Regions from separate parts of the Homo sapiens genome. Here all the other regions are linked to region 1. The links are contacts of gene promoters, found by promoter capture Hi-C in blood cells and fetal thymus (Javierre and others, 2016). All regions are on one chromosome and are shown on one strand. The core of a region is centred on a gene start or on the middle of the fragment in contact, and the rest is flanking DNA. Distances in the headings are between cores, read along the strand shown.

Region 1 (2,943 bases), core at 177-2,676:
CACAGAGCCTGGCCATCTCCACTTTTTCTTATCCCCCAAAAGGATTAACATCCCTGGCTTTATGTAGAATAGTGTACGCTGCCACATCAGTGTTTGAGTCATTCCCCAGAGGAGAGGGGAATCCCCCCTCCATTTTTTTTTTTGCAACATCTTGTCTTCCCTTTGCTGTTGCTTCCCCCAACACACTTGGTTTTGTTCTATCCTGTACTTCAGATTTGTTTTTTGTTTTGTTTTTTTCATATTGAAAAGATGACATTGCTCCAAGAGGCAAAAATAAATGGGAACTGAAAAAAAAAAGCTTTTTATCTTATTTATTTAATCTTTTAATTCACCTGGAATGAATATTATGTCAATTGGGAGCTTAAATGCTTAAATGTATTTTTCCCCAAATGGTTAACTAATCCTCCCAATAGCACTCATTTGAATAATCTGTCCTTTCCCCATATATGTTACATGTCTTTTACAAAATACAGCCTATTTGAGGTATGTTTCTGGGCTTTTGTTCTATTGAGCTGTCCATTTGCTTACACCAGAAATGCCAGTTTATTTTTTTGTAGTCTTGCAATCTTTTAATTTCTACTAGTGCTTTTTAATTTAACCTTAATCCACTGTATTTGTATTTTTTTCAGTGGTGGTAAAAGGAAAAAATTAAAAATCTAATGAAAGCAGCCAAAAGCACACAATTTATGTCCTGTTAAGACTTCCGCATGTAAGTATCATGCTCCAAATATATTTTTCATCTTTACTTTTTATGACGGAAAGGGCTCAAGTACTTTGGGAAGCAAAACAGAATCGAGGGACGCCGAGAAGATACACAGCAGGCATGTAGGGTAGCGTGGTTGGCAACTGTTCTTACAAAATTTTAATTTGAATTATACGTAATGTACGTAATAAATTACTATTTGGATTTCCCTTTGGCATAAACAGCCAGGGAATATAACTAACATCAAAGATCCCAGACTCTCGACACAATATACTACTAATCGTAACACAATTCTAGAGGGTCAAAAAAGGTAGAGAAGTTTGGACCGTGGAACAGACCTGGTGGAATGTCGACACAAAGCGTTTCAGGGTAGACAAAGCCTACTCAGAACACCCTAAACGCGGAGTTTTGCTAAGTTGGGACGCTAAAAGGCAAGGGAATGACAGGACGTCCGCAGGCTAATTCGCCATTAAGAAACAGAACCGCGGCTTCTTCCACCTCCAGCGTCATCGGCCCCCAATTCGCTGTAACAAACGGATAGTGTCTCGCAGCATCAGACAACGGACTTGGAAATCAGTTTGCGACCACGCATCTGCGCCTTTTCTAGGAAAAGAGGAAGGCGGGTCCAACACTGGTAACGGCAGAAACATAGTTCACAAGGGCCACTGCAAACGCCCCGCCAGCAGCGGAACCGTTATCTCGCGAGACGACGGATCCCCATAAGGCACAAACCTAGCGCCAAGGTTGGCTGTCAAGGTAGATTCCAGGGTGTGGAAGTGGCTTTGTGGTGCCACCTCTAACCGCTCGGAGGTCAACCCCCATTCTACACCGAAAACTAGGCCTTGGCTGCTATGGAAGGACAGCGGCAAGAAAGCCACGCAACCCTAACACTCGCCCAGGCTCATTTCAACAATGGAGAGTACGCGGAGGCCGAGGCACTGTACTCCGCTTACATTCGCCGGTGCGCTTGCGCGGCCTCCAGCGACGAGAGTCCCGGGAGGTAACTATCGCGAGACCTGGGGCCGCGGCGACCCCGGGTGGAGGCGACGTTGGGGTTGTTTGGGCTCCTATCTTTGCCTCTGGAGCTCACGGTCGGCGCTTGTCATAACCCAGCACTAGGACTGAGCGGGCGGACGTTCGTCTTTCTAGAAAGGCCTAGGCGAGGCCTAGGACGAGGGCGGCGGAGAACGCGGGGAGAAGCCCACCCGTGAGGAGCCAGCTGCCGCGACGGTGCGGAGAGATTTCCGGGAACCAAGCCCTCTGCGCGATCCTCGGGCGCGGGCCGCCGCCTCTCACCCCGCCGTCTCTCCTTCCACGTTCCTCATTCGCACCCAGAGACTTAGGACAGATAGGAATTTTCCACTCGTGATTTTAGCTGGCGGGAAATCCGCGACCTGGGAAGGGAAGGGGTCACGGCTGCGTAGGGCCACAGTACCGCGACTCCCATCTCAGTGTCACGGCGCAGGCTCTTGGTGGTGTTTTTCACTTGTGAAAAACGTTTAAATATGTGGAAGAGAGCATAACGAACGTCTAGGTGTTTATCACTTGGCTTAAGCATTATCAGTTTACCTATTGTATTCATCCATGGATGTTTCAGAAGGAACCACCATGTCATCATCACATAGTTACTTAATATCAAGTCGTCAGTGTTGGAACCATTCTGATCGACTAATAAGGTGTTTTGTTCTTTGGTTCCCTTTTCGCAGTTAGTTCAAGTCAGGATACACATCAAGTCTTTTTAAGTCTCTTCTCCACCTTCCCCTCTTTATTTGTTGAGGAAACCGATTCTTGTGTCCTTTGAATTTCCGTGTTTTGGACTTGCTGACTGAATCTCTTCTGTCGTTTAATGTGGTCATCTGTCTCATATTGCTGTGAATTGGTGGTTAAACCTTGAGGTTTGATCCAATTGAATTCAGATTCAATATCATGGCAAGAATACTTTTTAGGTGGGTGTGTGTACTTTCACCAGGAAGCACATAACGATTCGCTGACTTTCTCTTTGTGATGTGAGCGGCTTCACCTGTTACTGTCTGCTTGCCCAAAGCATCTTTTCGGCTTGTGCCTGGATGTGTAGCATTTGTTTTTACTCCAAGTCTTGCCTCGACTGGGCTTGTTGATGGTATGGAGTGGATCAGGATGAGAAAAGAACAGAGGGGTTGGTTGAACAGCTTTTTGAATAGTTGTGAGTTGTCTGTTGTGGATTTGAGTTTTCTGGACAGGATGCCAGCTTGTCTTTTGTA
Region 2 (2,943 bases), core at 1-2,500, 770 kb before region 1:
CGGCAACTTCTAGGCCCTCAGTCACCCCTCTGATTCACTAGGCCAACTTTCAGCCCTCTCCCTGCAGTCTGTGTCCACCAGGTGTCTCCTCAGGCTAGGACGGTGGCCCTCCTGAAAAAAACAGGCTTCTTTCACAACAGCCTCACTCAGTTACTATTTGTGACGCACTAAGCTGTGCACACAGATTAAAGTCCAGAACAGCACAGAGGGAGGAAGACAGCTGTGCTGCAGCCTACATGGTCAGGAGGTTCCAGGTACAAGATGCCAAGCTGTCTGAAAACTTAGAAATAAACATCTTTTTGGGTCCTCCCTTCTGGTGCTTCTTTATGTTAACTTCTCCAGACCACAAAAAGGAAGAGAGAGACAAGCTCTTCTGATGCTACCCCAGGGTCACTCCCCTGGGAAGCTGCAAGGGGACCTCAGAGCCAGACATGGGCATGGTGGTGAGGAGGGGGTGAGGACCCAAGGAGTCCATTCTGGGACAGTCCTGCCTGCCTCATCCAGGGCTTCTGGGACAGTCCCAGGCCCCCGTTTGGGTGACCAACCAGGCACAGCCTTGCCTTTACCCTTCTGCCTGCAGAGGCCCCAGCAGCAGGTAGAGCCCTTCCCAGCACTAGGTCTCTCAGACAGTCTCAGCTTGAGTGTGGCTCCGCCCACCCCACTGAGCACAGGAGGAACTGCAGCTGGATGGGCAGTGCCCTCAGCCAGCTCCTGGCTCTGGGGAGCTGAACCCCACCCTCAAGGTGCGGGCCCTCCCCACACCTACCTCAGCCCAGGGGAATTCAAAGCACATCCATGAGGCACCTATTAAGGATAGGAGTAAAATGGACACACGCACACACATGCACATGCACAGGCAAGAGCTGCGAAACCGGTAAGATGAGGCTCTGGGACTGGGATTGGGAGAGGACCTTCTCCAGGAGCCATCACATTTGCTCTGCCTTCAAGCTATCTGAGTGGGTTTTGAGGCAAGGTAAAATCCTAGAACCTTGGAACTGGAAAGGGCATCATTTTACAGGGCAGAAGATGAAGCTCCAGCAGGGAGGTGACTGCCCATAACTTGCCTCAGACGTCTCTCAGGAGACGCCTTGTGGTGCCCTGGCCCCTGAGCGGCCTCCCCTGGCGGGCGCAGTCCGTGCTGTGGGAGCAGCTGCCTCTGGGCACTCGGAAGCCCACAGTGGGCTCTGACTCTGGTGCAGCTCAAATATACCATCCACCAGAGGGATCTAGTTACTTTCCACTCACCCAAAGTTTGGCTGCTGGGTTCGCTCGGCAGCTTCCTCTCTTCCCTTCCCAATCCAGACACTTTCTGAGGGGTAAGCGCAGGCCCAAACTCCCTCTGCTAGACTGCTGCTTTCAGAGCCTCGCTCCCTCCAGCTCACTGCGCGATCTGACTCAGACCTCTTGGCCTATGGCCCACTGAGGGCCAGTGGGAGGCCTGTCTCACTGAGATGACAGGTTCTCATGAGAATCAGCGAGGCCCAGTGATTCTGTGCCCCCAGAGGCAGCCTCAGGACACTCTCTTCCTGCCACTGGATTTCCTGGAGACCAGATTCAAGCACAGGAAAAGTCTGACCTTATCTGTGCACGAGCTGCTCTTGGAAAGAACGTAATTTTTCTCCCTGCTCTAAGAAGAAAATCAGTCTACAAATCCTGGTTGTTTTCTGCTGTGAGTTTAAATGAAATTGCCAACAGCATATACAATGTGTAGGGATTGAATTACACTCCCTCCTGTTCCATCCACGGGATTATCGGTACTCTCTTCAGTACCCAAGGTGAGGCGCCCACTCCTGCCGACACCATGAGAGCTGCCAGGGAGAAGTGACTGTCCTTGGCTTCGTGGAGTCTGGATTCTTCTATCACACAATCCACACCTCATATCGTTGCCAGGAGGGTATGGTGAAGGGGAGCATGGATACAATGACTGAGCACAGCTCAAGCCTGGCTTCCCCAAGCTAACACAGCAAAGCCTGCCACCTTCTCTGGAAGACCCAGTGCGGCTGTTTGGAAAGTCAGAATTCAACAAGGCAAGTGTGTTTGGGAATCAGTGGAAATGCCCGCCTGCCAGTGTGGGTGATCCTCCTTAATACGAAAGCCCTGGTTTCAAGCAGCAGTGACCAGGCTATCATTGTGTTTGACAGACCCAGCACCAGCCCCCGTTGGGCCCCAGCTGGCCTGTCCCGAGCTCCCTAAGTAGGGATGCCAAATCCTACTCACTAGCAGGAAATCCTGGTTCAAGTGATGTCAACTAGTAGTGCACAATTCTCCCTACAAAATGGAAAATTCTGTTTACTTTAGGAGGGAGACTTTGGTGACCTCAGGTTGGGGTTGAGGGGACAGCCTTTCCTCACAGTCTTGACATGCTTTCTCCCTGCCTGTCAGTTCTCCCATCCATGGTGACTGGAGATTCCAGCTGGGGGTTGCAACAGAGAAGCTGGGTTCATGCCAGTCACCCAGGCCTGTCCCCCGCTACCTAGAAGACAGAGAGCTCAGGGTGCTACTACCAACTGTGCTGGCAGAACGCTTTTCTCCACACCTTGGCAATGCTAGTTAAACCACATCTTAGCAGCAAAAAGCCGTCTGCCCCACATGTGTTGGCCCTTTGTTGTCATTTTTACAAGTGAAATGGATCCTCTGCATTCACCTAGTGAATGGACTGAGATGCCAGAGGGCTGGGCAGAGTGGCCCCTGGGGGCTTCACCTGCTCCAGAGGAAATCTGGGAAGCATTCCTTTTATCCAGTAAACAAAGAGCACACTGAGGGTATGGGGCCATGGAAGGAACAGTCACTGTCCAAGGACAACACCCCTCCCACCGGGTGCCACCTGAACTCAAGATGCAGGAAGGTACCTACTTCCCACACCACTCACAACACATCTCGTTAGAAGGAGGTCATCAGAAGGAAAGAGGGGAAATTGACAGTTTTTTTCCCTACTATAAAAAG
Region 3 (2,943 bases), core at 289-2,788, 740 kb before region 1:
GAGCAGGCCAGTTGCACTTGGTATGGAAGGGAAAGGGAGAGTTGAAAATGTTTACTGGGTAACATGCACCACATTTGCTGACTGTTTCCACCAACTGAAATAAAGAATATGATGGAGGAGCAGACCTAGGGGGCATGTGGAGTGTGAAGTGTCTGCCCTGTGGATGGATACATGAGGCTGGAGCTCGGGACGAGCTCAGGCCTGAGATGTAGGCTTGGGAGTCATCAACTTGGAGGTGATATTAAAAATCTGGGAGTGGATCAAGTTGCCCAGAGAACAGAAGTGGAAGGCAGAGAGAAGGGCTGAGGAGGAAATCCTGAGGATGCCAGGGGTTCAGGGACTCTTGGGGAGAAGGAGGAGTCTGCAGTTGAGGCAGAGAGGAGAGAACTGGGTGGGTATCTACGGAGTCAGAGGAGCTAAGGGAGGAGAGAATTTCAAGAGGGTTGAGATCACACACTCATTGGCTTATTATTTACCATTTGGCCTCTTGTGAAAAGGACCTGCAGCTGGAGACCAAGAGACACAGGTCCAGGATTATTAGGACAAAGGTGAAATGAACTAGACCCCGAAGTACAGCAGGGAGTGACACGGGGCTAGCTTGGAGTCTCCTGGCAACCAAGATAAAAAGGGAAACGATGAGTTGCATCTTTCTGGTGACCTGTTGAAAGAGACACTAAATTTTAAGAGAAATTTACAGCACAAATGTTTCCTTTTTTTAAGAGATAGGATCTCCCTCTGTTCCCCAGACTGGAGTGCAGTAGTGTGATCATAGCTCAGTGCAGCCTGGAACTCCTGGGCTCAAGCAATCCTCCTGCCTCAGCCTCCTAAGTATCTAGGACTACAGGCACACACCACCATGCCCAGCTTTTTCTTTTTTAATTTTTTTGGTAGACATAGTGTCTTGTTATGTTGTCCAGGCTGGTCTCAAACTCCTCAAGCTGGGCTTAAGCAATCCTCCTGCCTCAGCCTCCCAAAGTGCTGGGATTACAGGTGTGAACCCCCACGCCCAGCCACACAATTTTAAGGGACATTCAACAACGTCATGAGAAGCGTCTAGAATAGCAATGCTGTTTTTCATTTGATTGCTCCTGTGGCCGACTCTTGGTGAGAAGCAACGTGTGATGTCAGGGGTGATTCTGGGCCTGCATTGCTCTGAGAGTGAATCTGCTTTACAGGGTGCTTTGCAGCTCCTGGTAATTTGACTTGATCCAGGTTGGAGCTCAATGCACCCACATTTTCAGAGACAGGAGCAGAAGAGGAGAGTATTTGAGCTTGATGTTGCGGGGCATGAAGGAGGGAGCATTCTGGGAAGCTTGGGCTTCAGCCGCCCAGCCCACTTGGTTCTGTGCAGAGGGCCGGCCTTACATGCAAGGTGTACATGAGGGTGTTTTAACACCTCCATGAATCACACTAGTGCCACTTTTTCCTAGGCAGTGACGCCCACTCCTCGTGGAGTGTGTGCGTGCAGGGGCTTGTCAGACATTTGAAAGTACTTGCGAGGGCAAAGAACTCCTTTACTCCCCATGGGATCTCAGGATGGAGCCTAAAGTTACATACCCCCAAGCCTGAAGTCTCTTTGATGTTTCATGAATTAACTCAAAGAATTAATGAGCATTTTGTATCTACTTAAAAGGGCATATGTGTTTTAATATAAACGTGTACTGATTTGCTGACCATGGAGTAAAACAGCCGCAGGAGGGGGCACCGCAGTGGAGGTTGTGCAGGCTCTTGGATGTGCTAGCAGTGCAGACACCCACAAGCTTACTAACGTTACAGGGCTGTCTGCCCCGTGCTCAGCAGTGCCTGGCACACGGGGGCACCAGATAAATGTGAGTTCTCAACCTTGAGCTTCCTCTGCTCAGGGTCTCTTACTTGGCCTCCTCTTGTTGCTGGTGCAGATGCCCACCCAAGAAGCCCTGCCTGAACCCCTGATGGACGTGGGCCCTGGGTGGGGTGGGAGCCCAGGCCTACAGCTCCGGAGTACTCACGATGCCAGTGCCCTGGAGATGGAGGTTCCCCGAGCCTGGATATGCTGGGTCTGTGGTCTGAGCCTGAGGGGAGCAGTCGGGCCAGCAGGGGGCGCCCGGCCCCCACCGTGGCCTGCTCTGCGGGCCGGGCTGGAGTCACAGCTGCTGTCGGAGCCTGTGTTAGCAATCGCTCTGGGAAGGGGTCCGTGTGCCTTTCCCTGAGGGCTGTTTTCAGGAAAGTCTGGAGCCAGGCTCTTGTGCTGACAACTGCAAGCAGCACCTGTCCCAGGTGACTCCCCACTGGAGGTTCTGAAATCCCCCCAGCTGCCTCCTGGTATCTTGACCCTTCACAGGCTGGGCATTCTGGGTGGTGTTGCTGGAGCCAAGGATGTGTGTTCCAGACACACCCTGCACCAAGGGATCTCCCCGAGCCCGAGGGCGTCAGATGCCCGCAGCCCCTGCACGCCAGCACTCCAGTGGCACACTGTGGGCACAGTCCGGGCCTGGGAGCATAAGAGTGAGTGACCCACACTTCAGTCGGGGGAGACAGGCCCAGTCTATGGGGAAAGCACAGAGGAGCGAGGAGTGAGGGTAGGTGCCAGGATGATGGTGTGTGCATACAGCAGGTGATAGAGGAGCTAGGAGTGAGGGTAGGTGCCAGGCCGATGGTGTGTGTATACAGCAGGTGACTTCGCTGAGCACCCACATGGTTACAGACACGGCGATGGCACTGAAACCACTGTGAGACTGAGAGCCTGCTGGGGTGTCTCTGTACAGAGTGAACATGCAGCAAGAGCTCCGTGAGTGAAGGGGTGAAGGCTTAGCTGCCCAGGAGCTGTGGGGAGAGGCCAAGGAGGCAGCGGGAGTCAGCCGCTGGCCCCACGGGAAGCTGAGTGCTGCCCTCTCTGAGTCAGATGGTGCTCAAGGCTGCCTTCTGATGACAGCAAGAGTCCTGGCCTGCTTGACTCGGGTGCCT
Region 4 (2,943 bases), core at 225-2,724, 570 kb after region 1:
CGGAGGCGGGCGAATCACCTGAAGTCAGGAGTTTGATACTAGCCTGGCCAACGTGGTGAAACCCCATCTCTACTGAAAATACAAAAATTAGTCGGGCGTGGTAGCAGGCACCTGTAATCTCAGCTACTCAGGAGGCTGAAGCAGGAGAATTGCTTGAACCCAGGAGATGGAGGCTGCAGTGAGCCGAGAGATCACTCCACTGTACTCCAGCCTGGGAGATAGAGTGAGACTCTGTCTCAAAAAACAAAAAACAAAACAAAAAAAACTTCCATTCAACTATCAAAATCAAAATCAGAAAATTAACACTGATATATTACTGCCATCTAACCTGCAGATCTCATTCAAGTTTCACCAATTTGCCTAACAATGGCTTTTATAGAAAAAGGATCCAAGTCATGATCTTATATTGCATTCAGTTGTCATGTGTCTTTAGTCTCCTTCAGTCTCAACTTGTTTCTTAGTCTTTCCATGACTTTCATAATCACAACAATTTTGAAGATGATAGGCTGATTATATGGTAAAATGTCCCACCTTTGGGACTGTGTAATAAGTCCTCATGATTAGATTTGGAGAAGTGATGCTGTGCTTTTTTGGGGTATGGTAAGGTTAAGAATCATTATACAATAGCTACAAATTGTTGAACACATACTATATAAAATACACTTCACTAGGCACTTCACATATTTTAGCTCTTATAATCCACACAAGCACACTAAAAAGTGAGTATTATTGTTCTTATTTTATAGATGAGGAATCTGAAGCTAAGAGAAGTTAAGTGATTTGTCTAATGTCACTTAGTAAGCTGCAGAACTGAGCCCAGGTCTCAGGCCTGTGTCCCTCCCAGCCTGTGCCTTGTGCCCTGCACCGTGCTGCCAAGTTGACTCCTATCTTGAACCTGCCTGGGGAATGTCAACATGGGCATCACACAAGAACACAGGAAATCCCACTTTCGTAAATATTCTCCAGACTCAACACTTACTAGTTGTATGGCTTGGACAACTAAGTTAATTTTCCTTGGCTTCATTCATTCATTCATCGACTTAATGATTACTTCTTGAGCACTTAGACACAGGCAGTGTTCTAGGCCCTGGAATTACAGCAACGTAAGACAAAGTCCTTGTGGAATCTGTCTTCTAGGATAGCTCTAGTTTCACTATTTGTAAAATGGGGTAATTAAAATATATGCATAATTGAATTGTGAAGAATAAATAAAATCATTCATGTAATGAGCTTAGCCCAGTGAAGATACATCATAATTTAATGTGTCAGCTATTATGTAAAGATCATGAACAGTGAGAAGCCGATCCAACTCTTGACTCAGTGACAGTGCTCTGAGATAAGGAGGGAGATATAGGATGGGGGAGGCCTGCAGCCTAGGAAGCACACTTTTTCCAGATCTGGGATCAAAGCACAAAGCTGGAAGATAATGATCTCAATGAGGACATTGGCAAGGCCTCCCAAAAAGCAGAGCCTAGAGGACACACATCAACACCAATTACTTGTTCAGCATGTGCTTCTCTGCTCTGATTGCCCAGAGCTGTGGCCAAGGATTCCACATTGCATAGCAAAAAACAAACAAACAAAAAACAAACGGTGAGGACTAAAGGCAATGTAACACAAGTTGGAGTGTGTGGAGAGCATTGCTGTTTTTAAATTTTGGTTTTCTTAAATGGCTCACTGTCTTAGATGCCTATCTTAAATTCCCACACCTTAACATGTGGTATTAACTCCAACAGAAAACATGCAACCAGCCAAAAGCCAACATAGTTTAAGAAATTTAATATTTTATATGCATCACATTTTAGAAAACTGTTTTTTTTTATTTTTGTGGAGGAATGGGGTAACCACCACTGGACATTTTACTTTGCCTCAGGGATACAGTTCTGAAACTTGGAGTTTATACCATAACTTGGCTAATCTGCTCAGATTCAGCATCTGTAACTCCTTTAAGTGGCATTTAGTATTATGACAGGAAATCTTTACTGTTTTTCTATTATGAAGAAACATTAGTAGACTGTATTGTAATATGTGTTCAAATTGGGTTACCGTCTCTGATGAACTGCAGAAGAAATGGAAACAGATAGTGAGTGGAACAGGGATGCTGGTGCAATCAATCCCCAATCTCACAGCACGCACCTTGGGGCCCACAGACTGAGGGTCACATCTTCCTAGAGTTTCCTGAGATGGAGAAAATGATTTCTTTCTCTCAGTTGGTGCAATGCTTACATGGGACAATGTGTGCAATTAACCTGGCACACAGTAGTTATTCAGCAAAAATAATTTCCATTGTTATCTCCTGTTTTATGAATTCAGCTTTCTTCAGAATTTTAAAAAAAGCAGTTATAAATTAAACCACATTGGTTTCTTATTCATAGCTGGAGGGCCTGGCACATAGAAGGTGTGATCATGGGAGTCTGTGGGATGAATTATTTGTGGTGCTTGATGGAAAAGTGTTTCCTGGCCAACTCCCTTATTGGCAGCAGCAGGGGGTAGGTTTGGTGGTTCTGTGATGTCTCCCAACTCTGGAGCTGTGCACACAGACAGGCTAGACTCTTCCTGGCTAAGGCTCATGGGAGAGTTATTCTTGTTTCAGTTTGGGCAAAAATTCTATGCACATGCTCTGCCTTTAAATTCACTTTTCAGATACTTGGCTTCATTCTATGTGCCTGAAACTTTACCAGAATTTAGGAATTCAGGGAAGAATTAGACACCTTTAGGTAGTCAATAATTAGGTACCAGGGAAACTTATGTGCACAGATACACCCATGCATACATCAACATATGCATGTGTGTGTATGTGTGTGTGTGTGTGTGTGAGCATATATATTATATATATATGTATTTATTTATATATATATGTGGAGGTGGTATCCTAAGGTAAGGGGAAACAATGTGGGAGACTCAAAGTTGTGAGTGTGAGAGTGTGGGGACCACGGCAAAATT
Region 5 (2,943 bases), core at 197-2,696, 540 kb before region 1:
GCGCTGCTGCTGCCGCTGCGGGGCTCTGGCGGTACCCGGGTCCCCTCCTTCGCCGCAGCGTTTGCGCGCGGGGTCCGGGAGCTGGCTGTCTGGAGCCTCCAGGGTCTGGGCGAGCGGTTCCGAGACAGGCTTCACTCAGTGGGGCGTTGGCGACTCCCATTCAGAATTGCCCCTCTTCCTGGCAAACTCCCGGCGGGTGGTCGGGCCTGTGGGGGAGGGGCAGCTCTTTTAACGTGGTTTTGTTTTTAAATAAACAGACACACACACACACACACACACACACACACCCCACACACACACTTTTGTTCCCAAACAAGAGTGTTTTCTCTTTTCTTTTGGAGGTGGCCCCTCCTGTGGTTTAGGGCCCCACCCGGGTACTCGCCGTGGGCCAGCCTCGGGTTTGGACCCGAGAGGCGACCGGCTGGCTGCAAACTGGCTCTTCCAAGTCCCGCCGCCCCTACCCTTCCCAACCCCCAGCTTAGGTCTCTAGGTGAAGATTAAGGGAAGAGGTGCGGAGTGGCCCAAGCTTGACAACGGAAAGGGAAGGTCGAGGCTCGAACACTTGGAGGAAGTTACCGGACAGGAAGAAGCCCCTTCGGCCCCTCTTTTCACTATGAACTCTGATCCCGGTTCTTAAAACAGAGAACTGTCTGAGATAAATTGTACAATAGAATATACACTATTGTACAATAGAATGTACAATAGAATATACACTATTGTACAATAGAATGTACAATAGAATATACACTATTGTACAATAGAATGTACAATAGAATATACACTTGTACAATAGAATGTACAATAGAATATACACTATTGTACAATAGAATGTACAATAGAATATACACTATTGTACAATAGAATGTACAATAGAATATACACTATTGTACAATAGAATGTACAATAGAATATACACTATTGTACAATAGAATGTACAATAGAATATACACTATTGTACAATAGAACGTACAATATTCCGGGTTCAATAGAATCCAACCACCCCAAGACCCCTGAGCAGACGAAAAGGCTTGAGGCTGGAGAAGAGGGGAGGAGTAAGGGGCTAGCAAATGGGGCACAGCGGGTTAGGGGGTGTCCCCTCTATTGGGGCGTAGCCTCCTGATGCACGCCAGGACTGAACTCATTTATCCTGTAGATCCTGCATGAAATGACAGTACCGGTGATCCGGAAAGACCCAAGTCAACCGATTTCTACGGATAAAAGAGGAAGAAGGGGATAGGGGGAAAGGGGAGTCGGGGAGGGCTCCCGGGCAGGAGAAACAGCCTGAACACAAGCAGGAAGGTGGGAAGGAGCGGGGCAAACTCTAGGAGCTGCATATGCTGGGGCTCATGAGTGCTAAAGTATTAACAGCATGGGCTGGGCTCTGTCTATCCATTGCATGGGAAATGTCTGCAAACTGTTTTTTCAGCAAAGGAGGGACCCACCACATGACCGGGAGGTGGTTGCCTCCTGTCTCCGTCTCTGTCTCGGTCTCTGTCAGTTGTTGGAGGGCCAGGATTCTGTCTTATCTCCGCATCTTGAAGACCCAGCACAATGCCTGGCATTTACAAGGATCAGTAAATGACTGTGGGGAATTAACCCGAATGCTCAGAAACGCAGGTGGAATTTTCTGGGGGTTTCTTACCTCAGTTCCACACTTCGCTTTAACAATTATCTAACCAGGCCGGGCACAGTACCTCATGCCTGTGATCCCTGGGCGTGGGAGGCCCAGGCTGGAGAATTGTTTGAGCTCAGGAGTTCAAGACCAGCCTGGGTAACATGACAAAACCCCGTCCCTGTCCCTGAGAAAAATAAAATGGGATGGCGTGGGGAGGAGAGTGGCCTGCACCTATAATCTCAACTACTCAGGAGGCTGAGGTGGGAGGATTGCTTGAGCCCAGGAGGGCAAGGCTGCAGTGAGCTATGATCACAACACCCCACTCCAGCCTGGGTGACAGAATGAGACCCTGGCTCAAAAGAAAAAAAAAAAGTAAACATTAAAAAGAAAATCATTAAGCAAACCCATGCAGCCAACTGTGACTGAACCCCGGTGTTTTCACATGTAATTCATATGTTAAGAGCTAGGTCCCCATATGGCTCCACAGATGAAATCAGATCAAATAAGGCAGTAGTGCTGCTAAGCCTAGAGCCCTTCCTAGAGGGAACGTCTTATTTAGACGACTGGAAGTGCTGTGCTTCCCTCAGACTGGATTCACATCACTACAACAACCGGCCAACCAGCTTTTTTTTGTTGTTGTTGGCCGGGGCGGTGGGGGGCGGGGGTTTGTTTTTCAGATCTAAGGAACTGATCTGTCAGCAAGTAAATAGTTTTTCTGTTCATTGATTTAAGGATGCAATCTGGAAGCTTTTTTTTTTTCCTATTAGAAAAGTCTTATTTACACAAATTTTTCTTCTTTTAGTCAAAACCTTTTATAGCTGTATTGTTAACGCCGCTTTCCTTGGTCTTAATATAGCTTGGGAAACTTGGCTATGTCCTTAAACTTCAAATACCAAGAAATATGAAACAAAGCTTTGTACCATGTGTTTTTTTCTTTAAAAAACAAAGAATCCGGAAAACGGATTGAACTCCTTCGTGTTCTGATTTCCAGGAATATTATATGAGGTGTTCCAAGCTCAAATCTCAATATTGCAATAATTTCTAAAACTATGCAGTTGGTAAAAATGCCAAAGTAAACAAATAGATCTGTGTTCTGCAGTAACTTCTTTAGTAACTTCTTTTCATGGTATTTTTTTTTTTTTAGTCCAGGATACTTTGACAAGCTCTGCAGAGACTGGCTGCTTCCAAGACTGCCCCACACACAGGATAAACTTTTCCCAACTAGGTGATATGCCGGACAAGCCCCTCCCTGTCCCTTGCCCTTCATAATACACTTCCTCAGACAGGGATAAAATTTGATTCTTCTATGAGAACAAGTCATTTTATTT
Region 6 (2,943 bases), core at 271-2,770, 530 kb after region 1:
ACACATCATTTATCCTTGGTGCTGTGAAGTCCACTAGGAGAGCCAGGCATGTAAAAGATGGTTTTAGTGTAATGCAGCAATGTAATAATAGGGATTCTGACAAGGTACGATGGTGGCACAGAGAAGGGAGACTTAGCTCAGCCTGGAGTGTCAGAGGAAGCTTCTGAAGGATGATTCAGGAAGGATGAGTAGTGTGAAGGGGTAGGAATGCTCTGAACTGAGGAAATAATGTGAACCAAAGTACAGAAGTGGAAATGATCCTGGTATGTTCGTGAACTTGGGGGATACGTAAGGGAACAGGAGGCGGATGGACATAAATGGACTAAAAAAAAGAGGCTTGGAATTATTGGAGTAAAAAGAAAGATTGATGAGTGCTGCAAGGGATTCAAAGAAAAAGCACAAACAGTTCTACAAAGGAACTGAGCAGTTGGTCAAATTAACAAGTTAAAGATGCATTTACAGTTATAATAAATACAAGACCCCCTTGTAAAAGATACCAAGCCCAATAAGAAAGTGGTAAAGTGCCAAAGTGAGTTGGAGAATTACATGAAATAGGCTTATAAGAGGGAGAAGACACTAGCTGGGGAGAGAGTTCCAGGAGGCAATGGTATTTCAGCAGATGGGAGGATAAGGTATAAATAGGTAGAAGAGAAGGAGCATGTCATCCCAGGCAAAGAGAACATCCCGAAGTACCTTTAGGTTTAGTCACTTTAGGATCGCATAGGAAGAAAGACCTTAGTGTAACAAAAAACTTGCAGAATGAAAACTAAGGTCTCTGTATATAAAACATTCTAAGTGGGAGAAATTTCTTCCCTAGAAGGTCAGGTTGGGAAGCAACTATAAAGAGAACAACTCATGGATAATGTGTAGATTTACAAGAAAGACAGGATGGGCAATGCTTTTGTAGCTTCAGTACTCAGCTGTGTTCAAGAAGTTTCCTCTTTTTAAACAATCAATAGGAACACTCTGTTCCTAGGTAGAGAATACAAGTATGGTTCTAAATCAAAGAGAATTTATAGAAATCTGCAGTAAGGAGTCTAATATGTCAGGTGCTTAAAGTTCTTCAACCATGGCCTGTTAAAGGGAACAACTATAACTAAACGACTTTACAATTTATCACAGAAACCAGGACAATTGCGTCTGGGACAAAAACAAGACAAGATCCTAGGAAAGCCAGTGTGAATGAGGATCGTCTAGGAAAACTGGCACTCTTGATCTGTGTATCAGTTGGGGTCCAGTCAGGACAACAGAAACCACACTAGGCATTTCAACAGAGAGAATTTAATATAGAAGATGGGTTAAACTGGTCCAAGAAAGCAAACTGGGAGCACTAGGGAAAGGGTGGGGAAACAAAGGCAAAGATTGTGGGTGTCAGCATCTAGAAGCTCAGAGGACGAACCCTGTAGGACTGGGCTCAGCCCTCTGAGGAGGCAGCACATCCTTGCTGCTTCTGGGTGGCTCAGGAAGTCTATAGGAAGTCCATGGAGTAGAGGTTCAGCTCTCTGAGGACAGTTATTGCCCCACTGGGGAGGGCACCTTCCTAGGGCATGATGAGATTGGTTCTGGGAGTGCTGAAAGAAGTTGAAGATTGGAACCAACTGGCGATGCTAAGTGAAAGTCCATCGCTAGAGGCCAACCCCTGGTTGCTGCTCCCATGCCCCTATTTGCAAAATCTAAGAGAAAGTCATCTGACAGAGGAAAACTTTAGCCTGCAGATCCCAGCCCTGGTGTCACACAGCAGAGCGTAGAAATGTGGACTTGGAACTGAGCAACACTGGCGTAATAATGGGCACAGTTGTTCTTATTGTACTTGCAGCACCAGGCTTGAGAACGGTTCTGATTTTGAGGAGGAAATTCTCCTAAAAGATCCTTCAGCTCAATAAGTGATAAAAATCACAGTCTAGTCTGCAGAAGAAAATAGGATTTATCAGTTATTCCCTTTGTGCCACGAACTTTACAAACGTTAGTTCATTAATCACAATAATCCCATAGAACTTGTGTTCATCCTGTTTTTACAGATGAGGAAACTGAAGTTTCAGGTGGTTAAGCTGTTTGCCCAAAAACAAGTAGCTGGGGAGAGGCATGTTCTAGAGACATGGACTAGAAGCCTGTCTCTTTCCACCACCTCTTGGTCTTTCTAGGGAGGAAGCTGCTTCTTTACAGGGCTGAGGCCCATGATCCTGGATGGAGGGGCAATGGCTGGACCACTCCTGGAGGCCCTGGGCCAAGTGACCTCTGCTGGCCACTGGTTTCTGGAAAGCTCATCCCCAAAAGGTTTTCCATCCTTTGAGTTCACACCTAGCCAGACTCAAAACCTAAAGTGATTTATTCCCACTAAATGCTGGCCTCACACCCATGGGAAGAAGCCAAGACTTTGTTTGAATGAGCTCGCCATCTCTTGGAGAAAGCATCACGCTGCAGCCACCCATAGCTATGTTTTGGAGAGAGTGTGTTTGTGTGTCTGTTCATGTATTCATGTGTCTTATAAATTCAACCTTACTCAGTAGGATGGCATTCTTGGATAATAGACCTTTCAGCCAGAGGGCCAAAATTGCAAAGACAACAGTTATTTTTTGGCTGAATCAAGTTCTTCAGCCTTAGCTGAAGACGAAGGCAAATTGTGCCTGTGTTTTCTGGAAATGCTGATGCTGAGATGGGACCTTATTGAGGAATTCACCAAGGCCCAAGGGAACTGAGAAGATAAATGCTACCAGGCGGCTGCAACTTGAGCAAAATTCAAAAACAATAGAATGTCAACTGAAGATCATAGAGACTGTGGCAAGTATGACAGAAAGCAAGGGCAATGGCTAGGTCCTGAGACCAATGAGGATGTGGATAATGGGTGCTGGCACTACAAACACTGCTTTGAAAGAAGCTTGAAGAAAAGGAGGCAGATTCGGCACTCCCTACCCAGGACCCCAGCTCATCACTGAGGAAGAGGGA
Region 7 (2,943 bases), core at 287-2,786, 520 kb before region 1:
AACTTAAAAAAAAAATGATGTCCCAGCTCAAAAGCAGTCAAGCAGGAGGCATTCTCCCTTACTTGTGGCAGGGTCAGCCCTTTGTTCTATTCAGGCCTTCAACTGATTGGATGGCGCCCACCCACACTGGGGAGGACAATTTTTATTCAGCCTGACATTTCAAATGTTAACATCAGCCAGATGTGGTGGCTCACGCCTATGATCCTAGCACTTTGGAAGGCTGAGGAGGCAGGCTGCCTGAGGCCAGGAGTTCAAGACCAGCCTGGGTAACATGGTGAAACCCTTCTCTACTAAAAATACAAAAAATTAGCTGAGCATGGTAGTGTGTGTCTGTAGTCCCAGCTACTCAGCAGGCTGAAGCGCGAGAATCGCTTGAACCTGGGAAGTGGAGGTTGCAGTGAGCTGTCTTTAAAAAAAAAAAAAAGTTAACATCATGTTAACATCATCCAGAAACATCTTCACAGAGACACCTAGAATAACATTTGGCCAGATATCCAGGCACCCCATCGCCCAGTCAGGTTGACTCATAAAATTAATTATCACGGATGCTGCTGCTGCTGCTGCTGCTGCTGCTGTGTGACCAAACTTTGAAAATCACTGCTTGGGAGTGTCTGCCTCTCTTTGAGGTGGGGTTAAATCATTATCTCCCCATCTCACAACCTACAGGGGGAACACCTATGATCACAGGACAGGAGTCACAGCAGGATAGACACAGCCAGCCACAGTGGCCAAGCTTGACTGGCTGGCAGACTGTTGGGGGCATAGAGTCTTCGGCTGAGTGGCTGGAATCCTGTGTTGCTCATCATCAGATCCCAAAAGACACTTCATCTCCCTGGGCTCCAGCTTCATTTAGGATCCGCAGATAATACACAGGAACTACTAACACTAAAACATTATTTGCTATTTATCTGAAATTCAAATTTAACCTGCATCCTTTTTCTCTTTTTTCTTTCTTCTTCTTTTTTTTTGCTAAATTTGGCAACAGGGCAGGCCACTGCTGCTGTCATTAGAAAGACTCATTTCAGCCCAGGCAAGGGGAGGAGAGCAAACCCAGAGATGGTAACCTGCTCCCCTGAACCAGAGGAAGCAGAGACCTTCTCACAAGGACCAGGCGAGGGATGTGAGTCGGCCTGAAGGGAGGGTGGGAGATGTCCGGGCTCACTTAACCACAGAAGGGTGGACCTCTCAGACCAACACTGACACCAGCAGTAAACAGGAAATGCCCTCCAACCGCAGGCCTCCTGCTCTTCCTGCCAGGGTCGAGAAGATTCTAATCCAGATTCAGAAGAGGAGCTGACTGGCCTCTGGCAAGCCCAAGCTGGATTACCAGCTGCGGAGGCAGAGGTGCCTGAGGTTTCCCAGCCCCCAGGCCAGAGGAGGCTGCTACACCCACTTCCCCCACGAAGCTGGGGCCCAGGCCAGAGAGAGAGCCCCAAAGCTGGTTTGGGGGCGGGGAGCTTCCCTACAGGCCCTGGAGGTACCAGGAGTGGGTGAGGTGCGGGGTGGGTGGCCTCCACAGTCCGGGTACACAGTTTGTCTGGGAGATTTCCTGGTTGCTGGTATGGGGGGGAGGTGTTCTTGTAGCTGCTGCAGGAACCTCTCCCTGTGAGCTCCATGGATGGGAAGTCGGGGTGTGGAGTGTGTAGTACTAGAATCTGCCATCTCCAGCTCTGTGCCTGTTTCCCCCAGCCCCATAGGCCCCAAGACAAAGCAAGAGGAATGAGAGGAAGCACAGCCGGGTCAAAGCTCCGAGCCACGAGTACTGAGGCAGGTGGTGGTACCCAGACCCCCTCTCCATAGCTCCCATGAGAGCACAAGGCGGAGGAGAGGACAGACTCCTGGCCTGAGGGGCCAAGCACCAGCTTCTCAGCCAGCTCTGCCACTGACTTGCTGCTTGGCAAGTCACTTAACTGTTCCAAGCCTCAGTTTTCACTTCTGGAAATGGGGATATGACCCCCTGCCTGCCCCCTCATGCTGGCATAAGAATCAATGACCTGTGACAGGACTTTGTAAATTATAAGTTGGTATTAGTTAGGCCTCTTTAGTCACAAATGTGAGAAACTGACATTAAATGAGGCAATGCAAAAGGGGGATTCACCAGCTCAGAGGCCCAAGACCCAGGGCAGGGAGAGGAGGCGCTGTCATTCCCTCTCACCCCTGCATCTCTCTGCAAGTCAGTCTCTTCTTCCGCAAGCCTGGAGCCAACTTCACCTCCTAAGAGGAGCTTCTCTGCTCTGTCACTACCAACTTGAACAACCACAGGGAGGGCCCTGAATTGTGTCACATGTCCACCCATGGCTGTGAGACACTATCTTATGCAGCTTCTTCTGGAAGCTTCTTATTTTGATTGTTGGCATCAGCATTATAAGTTTGCCACATTTTCCTGATTCCTATCCTCCTTGGACAAAATAACATAGGGGCTAAGGGCACAGGCTCTGGAACCCAGATTACCTGGATTCAAGTTCTGGTTCTGCCATTTTCTCACTGTGTAACGTTGGGCAAGTCGCTTAACTTCTCTGCACCTCAGTTCATAAATCTGTGAAAACTAAATGAGTTGATACATGGGAAGTATGAACAATTGTGCCTGGTGCCGGCCAGGGGTTCAACAAATGTTAATCATTATTATTGTCGGAGAATGAAGGGGCAGTGCCTGGGAATCCCAGGATGAGAGACAGCCTGAAGAAAAACCATCCTGCTCCACCTACTCCTCAACCTTCTTCCGGGGAGAGCTGACAACTGCAGGAGCTATGGCTCAACAAAGATGTACAGAGCTATGCAGTAAGCCCTGAGAATTACAAAACTTGACAGACAAAGTCGCTTTTTCTCCAGAAGCTCATTGCCAAGTAAGGGAGATAGAAGCATGAAGAGATCATTTCTATCCTGTGCTGGATAGAAGCGTGTGTATGTCTCTGTGGGAAGCCACAGTGGGACAACTGGTCCAGA

The links. Contacts are between HindIII fragments. The CHiCAGO score rates a contact against its expected background, and 5 or more counts as called.
Region 2: a contact is called between a fragment that was not itself captured here and the fragment with the promoter of TTC32 in region 1, in 1 of 17 cell types (total B cells). The highest score is 7.6, in total B cells.
Region 3: a fragment that was not itself captured here is called in contact with the fragment with the promoter of TTC32 in region 1 in 1 of 17 cell types (total CD8 T cells); the score reaches 6.7 in total CD8 T cells.
Region 4: a contact is called between a fragment that was not itself captured here and the fragment with the promoter of TTC32 in region 1, in 2 of 17 cell types (naive CD8 T cells and fetal thymus). The highest score is 7.0, in naive CD8 T cells.
Region 5: a fragment that was not itself captured here is called in contact with the fragment with the promoter of TTC32 in region 1 in 1 of 17 cell types (total CD8 T cells); the score reaches 5.5 in total CD8 T cells.
Region 6: a contact is called between a fragment that was not itself captured here and the fragment with the promoter of TTC32 in region 1, in 7 of 17 cell types (total CD8 T cells, naive CD8 T cells, neutrophils and 4 more). The highest score is 8.0, in total CD8 T cells.
Region 7: a contact is called between a fragment that was not itself captured here and the fragment with the promoter of TTC32 in region 1, in 1 of 17 cell types (total B cells). The highest score is 5.5, in total B cells.

The regions. Positions count from the first base shown.
Region 1 is chr2:19,900,466-19,903,408 of GRCh38, reverse strand. It overlaps TTC32 (tetratricopeptide repeat domain 32), which reads left to right and starts at 1,426. Exons shown (of 3, transcript NM_001008237.3): 1 at 1,426-1,703. The coding sequence starts at 1,555. RefSeq lists enhancers at 1,074-1,313, 703-1,583, 1,764-1,863, 1,944-2,003, 2,144-2,333 and 1 more. The HindIII fragment of the contact is 3,134 bases long and covers 301-2,943 here.
Region 2 is chr2:20,673,682-20,676,624 of GRCh38, reverse strand. It overlaps GDF7 (growth differentiation factor 7), which reads right to left. Exons shown (of 2, transcript NM_182828.4): 2 at 1-2,943. Among named protein-coding and RNA genes, the nearest start is that of GDF7, 8.0 kb to the right of the region's middle. RefSeq lists enhancers at 221-320, 331-390, 781-900. The HindIII fragment of the contact is 3,834 bases long and covers 1-2,943 here.
Region 3 is chr2:20,641,709-20,644,651 of GRCh38, reverse strand. The region is part of intron 2 of HS1BP3 (HCLS1 binding protein 3); the gene reads left to right. Among named protein-coding and RNA genes, the nearest start is that of HS1BP3, 7.9 kb to the left of the region's middle. RefSeq lists an enhancer at 1,842-1,971. The HindIII fragment of the contact is 448 bases long and covers 1,315-1,762 here.
Region 4 is chr2:19,331,198-19,334,140 of GRCh38, reverse strand. No RefSeq gene overlaps it. Among named protein-coding and RNA genes, the nearest start is that of MIR4757, 16 kb to the left of the region's middle. The HindIII fragment of the contact is 9,961 bases long and covers 1-2,943 here.
Region 5 is chr2:20,443,928-20,446,870 of GRCh38, reverse strand. No RefSeq gene overlaps it. Among named protein-coding and RNA genes, the nearest start is that of RHOB, 1.7 kb to the left of the region's middle. RefSeq lists a silencer at 1-88. The HindIII fragment of the contact is 1,836 bases long and covers 529-2,364 here.
Region 6 is chr2:19,369,001-19,371,943 of GRCh38, reverse strand. No RefSeq gene overlaps it. Among named protein-coding and RNA genes, the nearest start is that of OSR1, 12 kb to the right of the region's middle. RefSeq lists a silencer at 2,222-2,516. The HindIII fragment of the contact is 2,715 bases long and covers 163-2,877 here.
Region 7 is chr2:20,423,286-20,426,228 of GRCh38, reverse strand. LOC105373465 (a long non-coding RNA gene) reads left to right here and starts at 1,284. Exons shown (of 5, transcript XR_001739317.2): 1 at 1,284-1,477; 2 at 1,690-2,943. RefSeq lists enhancers at 1,120-1,169, 1,230-1,389. The HindIII fragment of the contact is 1,601 bases long and covers 736-2,336 here.